Linked DNA regions of Homo sapiens: regions 2 and 3 are each linked to region 1. Evidence: promoter capture Hi-C in 16 types of primary human blood cells and fetal thymus (Javierre and others, 2016). All regions are on one chromosome and are shown on one strand. The core of a region is centred on a gene start or on the middle of the fragment in contact, and the rest is flanking DNA. Distances in the headings are between cores, read along the strand shown. Region 1 holds the start of LINC02482 (long intergenic non-protein coding RNA 2482). Region 2 overlaps SLBP (stem-loop histone mRNA binding protein). Region 3 overlaps NOP14 (NOP14 nucleolar protein).

What was found. The method cuts DNA at HindIII sites, captures the fragments that hold promoters and counts their contacts. A CHiCAGO score of 5 or more calls a contact.
Region 2: a fragment that was not itself captured here is called in contact with the fragment with the promoter of LINC02482 in region 1 in 1 of 17 cell types (neutrophils); the score reaches 5.4 in neutrophils.
Region 3: a fragment that was not itself captured here is called in contact with the fragment with the promoter of LINC02482 in region 1 in 1 of 17 cell types (neutrophils); the score reaches 9.3 in neutrophils.

The regions. Positions count from the first base shown.
Region 1 is chr4:6,672,180-6,675,130 of GRCh38, reverse strand. It overlaps LINC02482 (long intergenic non-protein coding RNA 2482), which reads left to right and starts at 1,250. Exons shown (of 2, transcript NR_134665.1): 1 at 1,250-1,447. MRFAP1L2 (Morf4 family associated protein 1 like 2) reads right to left here and starts at 1,056. Exons shown (of 1, transcript NM_138699.3): 1 at 1-1,056. The coding sequence starts at 918. The coding sequence ends at 559. RefSeq lists a silencer at 752-981 and an enhancer at 1,454-2,062. The HindIII fragment of the contact is 2,330 bases long and covers 1-1,652 here.
Region 2 is chr4:1,699,800-1,702,750 of GRCh38, reverse strand. It overlaps SLBP (stem-loop histone mRNA binding protein), which reads left to right. Exons shown (of 8, transcript NM_006527.4): 4 at 2,681-2,740. Among named protein-coding and RNA genes, the nearest start is that of SLBP, 11 kb to the left of the region's middle. The HindIII fragment of the contact is 4,067 bases long and covers 1-2,951 here.
Region 3 is chr4:2,939,651-2,942,601 of GRCh38, reverse strand. NOP14 (NOP14 nucleolar protein) reads left to right here. Exons shown (of 18, transcript NM_001291978.2): 14 at 251-410; 15 at 873-1,020. The region is part of intron 2 of NOP14-AS1 (NOP14 antisense RNA 1); the gene reads right to left. Among named protein-coding and RNA genes, the nearest start is that of NOP14-AS1, 5.6 kb to the right of the region's middle. The HindIII fragment of the contact is 2,982 bases long and covers 70-2,951 here.

The DNA.
Region 1 (2,951 bases), core at 1-2,500:
TACTGGAAATTGAGTGGCTAATGTGGAGAAAACGCAGGCAGAAAAACAGGGGAGACAAAACGAAAGGCTCTCTTGGTTTGAGCCTGTCCAAGCAGCCACGACTCCTTATCAGGTGAACACAGTTCGTCAGTTGGCCACCTAAAGTACAAGTGGGAGAAATTCATCATCACAACATAAATTTTGAGCTTGATATTCTCATATCCGGGAGTCAAACAAACCCAACCACCTGTGCACAATGCTTCCACCTGCAGGAAGGTCATCGCAAACGCTCCAATCTCGTAACAACATTCACACGTTTCCAGCATGTACCTCCGCTTCACACCTCTCTCCCCCCACGTAGTGACCCACCAGGTCTACGTCCTGAAAATACTTCCAGTGGTCATGACTCTTTACAACAACATATCAAATTATTTTCTCTAATTACCTATGAAAAAAGAATGAAACCAACTCCGCGGAGAGCGTGGCACGGCTCTGCGCTCCCCTCCCTGCCTACCCAGCGCCTTCCACGCGGGACACTCCCCGCCGCGCTCCGCTCCAGACCCGCGCGGCCTCGCCGGCTCAGCAGCACTCGCAGCCGGCGATCCGCTGGTGCAGCTCCACGATCCGCCTGCCCATCCGCGCCGCCTCCGCAGCCTTCCTCTCTGCTTCGGCGCACAGCCGAGCCACCCGCTCCTCAGCCTCCGCACGCGGGCGGGGTGCTGGGGCCCGGGCGCCCCGCTCCTCTGCCTCCACCTCACTCTTGATGGCGTCGAGCAGGCTCTGGATCTCCAGCAGCTTCCTGCGGGCCCGCCAGTGCGCCCGGGCGCGCTCGCGCTCCAGGGAGGCCAGGTTCTCGCGGCCGGCGCGGGGCGCGGGGCTCAGCGGGCTGCCCGGCTCCTCGCGGGGCTCCCGCGCCTCGTCCGCGTCCACGGGCCGCATCACGCCGCCGCCTCTTCCAGCCCGCGGGGCACGCCGGGGCTGCTCACCAGCAGCGAGCGCGGAAGCCTCGCTGTCACCAACGACCAGACTAGCAACAGGTTGCCCCAACTTTCCGCAGCGAGGACGGTATCCAAAATGGGCTACTAGCCGTCGGCCAGGACGCTGCCACTGCGGCCCTTTTACGACACCTGCGGTCCTTTACCGCCACGCAGCAAGCGAGAACCGCATTCGGGGCTCCCGCCTCAGCGGTCCTGCGCGCGCACGCGCACTTGCACGCACGCGTACCCCCCCGCACGCATGCGCACCCCATGTCCCCGCCCGCTGTAGCGCCACAGCTCTTTGGGCGTTGATTCTAGGGTCAGGGCCCTCACTCACACTGCTGGAAGGTTAAAGTCGACTTCACGCTAGTTTAAGGAAATATCTGACGCTGATAACCATGTCCCAAGCACTGCTCTAAGTTCCCAATGTGTCCGGAATTGGTGGGTTCTTGGTCTCACTGACTTCAAGAATGAAGCCACGGACCCTCGCGGTGAGTGTTACAGCTCTTAAAGTGGCGCGTCTGGAGTTTGTTCCTTCTGATGTTCGGATGTGTTCGGAGTTTTTTCCTTCTGGTGGGTTCGTGGTCTCGCCGGCTCAGGAGTGAAACTGCAGACCTGTTACGGCTCATAAAGGCAGTGTGGACCCAAAGAGTGAGCAGCAGCAGGATTTATTGCAAAGAGAGAAAGAACAAAGCTTCCACAATAGAAGGGGACCTGAGCCGGTTGCCACTGCTGGCTCCGGCAGCCTGCTTTTATTGTCTTATCTGGCCCCACCCACATCCTGCTGATTGGTAGAGCCGAGTGGTCTGTTTTGACAGGGTGCTGATTGGTGCGTTTACAATCCCTGAGCTAGACACAAAGGTTCTCCAAGGCCCCAGCAGAGTCGATTGGTATATTCACAAACCCTGAGCTAGACACACGGTGCTGATTGGTGTATTTACAATCCCTGAGCTAGACATAAAGGTTCTCCACATCCCCACCAGACTCAGGAGCCCAGCTGGCTTCACCAAGTGGATCCCACACCAGGGCTGCAGGTGGAGCTGCCTGCGAGAACGGCACCGTGCGCCCACACTCCTCAGCCCTTGGGTGGTGATGGGACTGGGCGCCGTGGAGCAGGGGGTGGTGCTCGTCGAGGAGGCTCGGGCAGCACAGGAGCCCATGGAGGGGGTGGGAGGCTCAGGCATGGCGGGCTGCAGGTCCCGAGCCCTGCCCCTCGGAAAGGCAGCTAAGGCCCGGTGAGAAATCGAGCACAGCGCCGGTGGGCTGGCACTGCTGAGGGACCCAGTACACCCTCCGCAGCCGCTGGCCCGGGTGCTAAGCCCCTCATTGCCGGGGGCTGGCAGGGCCAGCCGGCTGCTCCGAGTGCGGGGCCCACCAAGCCCACGCCCACCCTGAACTCCAGCTGGCCCGCAAGCGCCGTGTGCAGCCCCGGTGCCCGCTCGCGCCTCTCCCTCCACACCTCCCTGCAAGCTGAGAGAGCCGGCTCTGGCCTTGGCCAGCCCAGAAAGGGGCCTCCACAGTGCAGCAGTGGGCTGAAGGGCTCCTCAAGTGCTGCCAAAGTGGGAGCCCAGGCAGAGGAGGCACCGAGAGTGAGCGAGGGCTGTGAGGACTGCCAGCACACTGTCACCTCTCACCAACATTCTAAATCATAAACACCCAGGCCGGGCGTGTGGCTCACGCCTATAATCCCAGCACTTTGGGAGGCTGAGGTGAGAGGATCGCTTGAGCTCAGGAGTTCCATACCAGCCTGGGCAACAAGGGAAAAAACCCTACCAAAAAAAACACAAGAAATTAGCTGGGCGTGGTGGCGCGTGCCGATAGTCCCAGCTACTTGAGAGGCTGAGCCGGGAAGATTGCTTGAGCCCAGCAGGTCGAGACCGAGGTGAGCTCTGAACGCCTGATTGCGCCACTGCACCCCAGCCCAGTGACAGGGCGAGACCCTGTCTCAAAATAAATAAATAAAAATAATAAACAACCGAATTCAGTGGTCCCGTT
Region 2 (2,951 bases), core at 177-2,676, 5.0 Mb after region 1:
TGTGTATCCAAGTTCTTGCAAACTAAGCTACTTCGTCTTCGTTGACTCATTACCTAATGCATCCTTAACCATGTTTAATCTCCCTTGATTATCAGTGTGTTGATCCTTTCTCTTTTGATGAGTTGTCTAACTCAAACCCAGTTGCAAGGACTGGGTTTATTCAAACCCAGTTAAAATGTGGCTCATAATTGGTTGAAGTATTTTACAAGATAATTTTAGCCAACAAGTGGCTGATAAACAGGGTCTCAAGAAAAATGTGTCTTGCGTGTCAGCCGCGGAACGATACCTAGACTACCTGTTTTCATTTTGGCAGCCAGTGATGGTATTTATATCAGCCTCCTTTGAAAAGGGACGGGAATATGTGGGAATTGGTTATTGAACATTTGGGGGAGTTATTTGTCATTTCTTCTGGTATCAAAATGTGTGGGTGGATGTATGCCTTGGTAGAAGAAATGAACTAGGAGTTCACAGATGAGAGTACCAGTGTTTTTAGTGAATTATTGCATTTATATAGGTCTTGACTTCCTCAATTATAAAATTAGAATGTTTGACTTGACTTGTATAGTTTGTGTTGCATGCACAAGTCTTAGAACAGTTCTTGCATACCGATAGCCTAGTTGCTCCCTCAAGTCACCCCTTGCCAGGGGTTATCTGCAGCTCTTATTCATGCGTATTCCACCTGTCCAGATTGTCCTGTGAGTGGACCCTATTTGTTCTTCAGATATCTCATGGGTCTGTGCCTGAAAATTGTCCTGTTTTGGAAAACAGCACTGTTTGGGCTGCTCTGTTGATTATACCCTTTGTGATGGAAAGCTACGGCTTTTATTTACTTACTTATTTTTTTGAGATGGAGTCTTGCTCTGTTTCCCAGGCTGGAGTGTAATGATGCAATCTCAGCTCACTGCAACTTCCGCTTCCTAGGTTCAAGCGATTCTCCTGCCTCAGCCTCTCGAGTAGCTGGGATTATAGCTGTGTGCCACCACGTCCGGCTAATTTTTGTATTTTTAGTAGAGGCTAGGTTTCACCATATTGGCCAGGCTGGTCTTGAACTCCTGACCTCAGGTGATTTGCCCGCCTCGGCCTCCCAAAGTGTTGGGATTATAGGCGTGATCCACCTTGCCTGGCCAAAGCTGCAGCTTTTAGTGCAACCTGTGTAATTTAAACTGCTGGCCCTTTAGTGAGCCATTACTGACAGGCCGGCTTACTTCCTGACAGTAAGAGCGGTATGAAATGTCAGCTTACTATGCTTTAAGGAGACTAACAGACTACAAACTAGCAATATAAGAGTATGAAAATGGATTTTCTGCATGGCATGGTGGCTCACACCTGTAATCGCAGTACTTTGGGAGGCCAAGGCGGGCGGATCACCTGAGATCAGGAGTTCGAGACCAGCCTGACGAACATGGAGAAACCCCGTCTCTACTAAAAATACTAAAAATTAGCCAGGCGTGGTGGCAGCAACCTGTAATCTCAGCTACTCAGGAGGCTGAGGCAGGAGAATCGCTTGGACCCGGGAGGCGGAGGTTGCACTGAGCCGAGATCTCGCCATTGCACTCCAGTCTGGGCAACAAGAGGGAACTCCGTCTCAAAAAAAAAAAAAAAAAGAAAAAAAAGAAAATGGATTTTCATCATACCTGAAAACCAGTCTTTCTCATCTGTGGTACTGGAGAGAATGAGGCCCTGCAGCAAATGATTTGCAGGACTAATCTCTGAATCGTACAAAGATGGTGTTATATAGCCAGTGCTACTCTAGATGCACGGGAGATAAATTACTTCATTACCTTCTGGCGTCCAAACTGCACTGAACACCTCAGCAAACTTGGGTGGATTTTAGATTTTGAGAGGAGGCACAGTAATACATGACATAATTTAGATACCTGCATGACAGGCCAGGGGTGGTGGCTCACTCCTGATCTCAGTACTTTTGAGAGGCTGAGGCGGGAGGATTGCTTGAGCTCAGGAGTTCAAGAGCAGCCTGGGCAACACAGACCTCCATGTCTCCAAAAAAAGAAAAAAATTTTTTTGGAGATGGTTGTGGCGGCACTTGCCTGGAGTCCTAGCTGCTTGGGAGGCTGAGGTGAGATGATTGCTTCAGCCCAGGAATATGAGGCTGTGGTAAGCCATGATCGTGCTACTGTACTCTAGCCTGGGTGACAGAGTGAGACCCCATCTCAAAAAAAAAAAGATACTCACATGAACTTGGAGCTCAAGGTAGCTCGTGGTTTCAACGTCAGATTGCGCTAGACTCCTTTTGGAGATGTCATACTTTTTTTTTTGCAAAACTGCGTTCTGGTAATGACTGCAATAGAAAGCAGATGCCTCAGGAAGTTCATGAGGAACAAGAGAAAAGGGGGCACGTTTGGTCTCCAGGATTGGAGAAGGTATGCAGTGCCCAGTAGGCATATGAGTCCCATTAGTAAGTTTGGTGTTTTTAAAATAATTTATTTCAATTTATGTTTTGTTTTTCTTTTTTTAAGGCTGCCAAGTTTTAGGGAATGTAAATTTTTGTTGTGTGGATCTCACTACTTAAACTGAACCTGACAAAGATTTCTTTTGGCCCACGGAGCTTCTGGATTGCATAGGATGGTGTGCCTGCGGGCATCAGGGTGGAGCTTCCTCAGACCTGGCTGCTTTATTTTTATATCTTTTTTAAAAACAGCAATATTTATTTTGCCCTCAGATATAAAAGGAAACTCCTCATCAATGACTTTGGAAGAGAGAGAAAATCATCATCAGGAAGGTAAAGGCTGTGTAAATGTTTCTTTTCTAATTTGATAGACCTGTAATTTGTTAAAAAAAAAAAATTGTGACTGTCAGAAATGCTGACTGTCGCAGTAGCATTTATTAATACCTTTTTCACTAATTTGAAATACTGTATCTGTTGTGTACTAAATTCCCATACATGCAGTCTCCGGACTATTTAGGATTCATATGGTTGGGAATCTGGAGTG
Region 3 (2,951 bases), core at 311-2,810, 3.7 Mb after region 1:
AGTCTGTGGCCAGCAGGCCTCTCAGGCAGGATCAGGCACTTGGCTCTCACCGCGCCCCCTGCCAAAGCTTTTCCCCTCCCCTGAGGTGTCCCTGCCCACGCTGAAACCCTCAGTGTCTGGCACAACCCAGAAACATAAAAATCGGTGTGCGTCTGTTAGAGGGTGAACTTCCACAGGCTCGGTGCCGCAGAGCCTGCTGGGAGCCCAGTAATGTTCAGGCCATCTCTGTCCTGTCGCACTTGGAATTCAGGTTCCACTCTGGTGCACCCTTTCAGAGCGCTTGGGAAGAACTCGGAACTGCTCGTGGTGTCTGCTAGAGAGGATGTGGCCACGTGGCAGCAGAGCAGCCTCTCCCTCCGCTGGGCGAGTAGACTGAGGGCCCCAACTTCGACAGAGGCCAATCACATCCGGTATGTGAGGGGACCCCGCTTTGGGGCCTGTGCCCTACAGCGTCCCCAGAGGCAGGAGAAGCCACTCGTGCTTTCTGATGTGCTGTTCTTAGTGAACTTGCCGCCCGGCCGTTTGGTTTGATGGAGGCCGAAAGCCTTTCTGAGGCATGTTGGCTTGCTGTCCCTTTTTCTTTTCATTTTCAAAATACATTTGCTTGATTTCACAAATCATAATTTGGAACCAAAAATGGAGCCGCCCCATCCCAGCTGGCGCTGCGGTTCCCACAGCCTCCCCTCCTGCGTTAGGCCTGACCCTGAGCCTGCCTTGCCCGTGGTTGCATGGGCCCAACCCTGGCCGGCCAAGGTGGCCACACTGGAGTTTTCAGCCTAGTGGAAGTGGGGAAGTTCATTTTTGCCACGTTATTGGTTTTGTCAGTGACAAACAGAACAAGTTGGACCTCCTCTTGCCTCCTGCCCTCACAGACTGTCCTGCCTGGCTGTGGGCCTGGCCCTGCTGAAGCGCTGCGTGCTCATGTACGGGTCCCTGCCATCCTTCCACGCCATCATGGGGCCTCTCCAAGCCCTCCTCACGGATCACCTGGCGGACTGCAGCCACCCGCAGGAGCTCCAGGTGAGGCTTCCCGGCCACTAGGGTGCTCTGCCTGGGCTCAGACATGTCCCTGAGCTGGGGCCAAGCTGGTGGCAGTCAGTCATTTGATGCTGCAGCTGTAAGTCAACACCATCTTTGCAAAATCACAAATATGAAGGGAAGTAAAATCATAAGAGTGGGCAGTGACGGTGAGCAGTGCTGGGCTGGAGTAAAGCAGATGCTGCATCTCAGGCGGCAGCTGGGAACTGTCGCCTTGTGTGCTTCCTCCAAGAGGCCGCACGGAGGGTGCACCAGCGCCCAGGGGTCAGCCCCTGCCAGGCCTGGACAGTCAGCTCTGAGCCGCGCTCTGCAGTCCCGATGGGTTTTCCAAGGATGGTCTCACTATCCTGCACAAGGTGACAGGAAGCCCCAAGGGACAGTCTCAGCTGGACCCAAGAACAAGTCTTTGATGGCACATCCTGTCCTCTACAGGCTGCTCCAAATTCACCTATGGCCTACCCGCCTCCCTGCCTTTCACCCTGACCCTGACAGGCTGTACCCTGCATCCACTTCCTGCTTGACATGGCTGTGGCTTGTGCCTTTCATCCTGCCCCAACCCTGCCCCTTATTGGCCCGCACCAGCCCAGGATGCTGCTGGAGCCGAAGGCATCAGTGCCATCTCCGCAGCTACCCCCACAGGACCGTCCCGCACCACCAGCACAGCCCTGGCAGCCTTGCCTCGTGCCTTCCCCTCATGCGCTCCGGCCTCCTCGCAGGCCTGGCTTCGTCTCTGGAGTAGTTCTCTGCACCTAGAACTCCCCACAGCCATGCTGCTCGCGCCCACACCCTTGGGAAGCCAGGCCTTCCCTGGCCCACACTGTGCCGTGCTCCCTGCGTTTTGTCTGTGGTGCTGACCCCCGGGCACGTTACACCGTCCTTGTCTCTGCCCCACTAGGATGAGAGTTCCATGAGGACAGCAACTCGGCTCGTTCCGGCCAGGTCCCTGGAGCATAGAGCAGATAAGCTAGCTATCACAGACTCCGTCGCCTGGTCAAAGGCTGATGAGGATGAGATGTGAGCCCTGCCCCTTATCCTGTATCCACTTCCTGCTGGTGTGGCTGTGGCTTGTGCCTTTTATTTAAAAGAATTTGGGTTGGCCTGGCCGAGGGGCACAGCAGGTCTCATGGTCTCGGTAGACTGGGCCAGTCAGGCCCTTGAGTTTGGTCTCCATGGAGACGAGGCATTCCGGCACTCGAAGGTTACATCCACATGGGCCCAGGAGTGGCTGTATCTGTGGGTGCAGCCAGGGTTCCAGGACACACCTGTGCAGGAGAAAGCGGGTAGGACCAACCTCAGTGAACTACCTTTCGGGAGATTCCTCAGAAGCCACCAGCCAACTCTTCTGGAAGCCAAGGTCTTGGTGAAAATGGGTCTTAACCATCTGGTTCTGTTGGCTTGAAAATAAGGTCAAACTGCCAAGACTGGTGGAAACCCTGCCCCGCCTAGCACCCAGCGTCAGTTTGCACACTGGGCTCTAGCATGCACACGGCCCCCCGCGGCAGAAAGGGGTTCTCCTGTGAGCCTTCTCACGAAGCAAGTGGCTCACGGCCTTTCGTGCCAAGTTTGTCTGGGAAAGAGGGGTTCTGTTGACGTTTCTGGCTGTGAGGAGCACAGGCTATGGTGACCTCCAACTCCCCAAGTCCCCTCCTTTCAGAGAGTGCTCTCAGGGGCCAGCCCACGGCCCTCCCTCTTCAAGAAGACAGTGGCTTTACTTCGTTCCGGCTGTGCCAGGACTTGAGCAGCCACAGCCTTGGCTTACCCCCCCGCCCACCGGTAGGCGCACAGCAAGGGCACCATCCTGCTGCAGGGAGCTCGCAGCACTGTCCTCACGCTGCCTTGACACCACAGAACCCGTGCGTGGAGCTCAGGGCACGCAGCAGGTGAGTCATCGCAGAGTCGGGGATTTCGTGTTT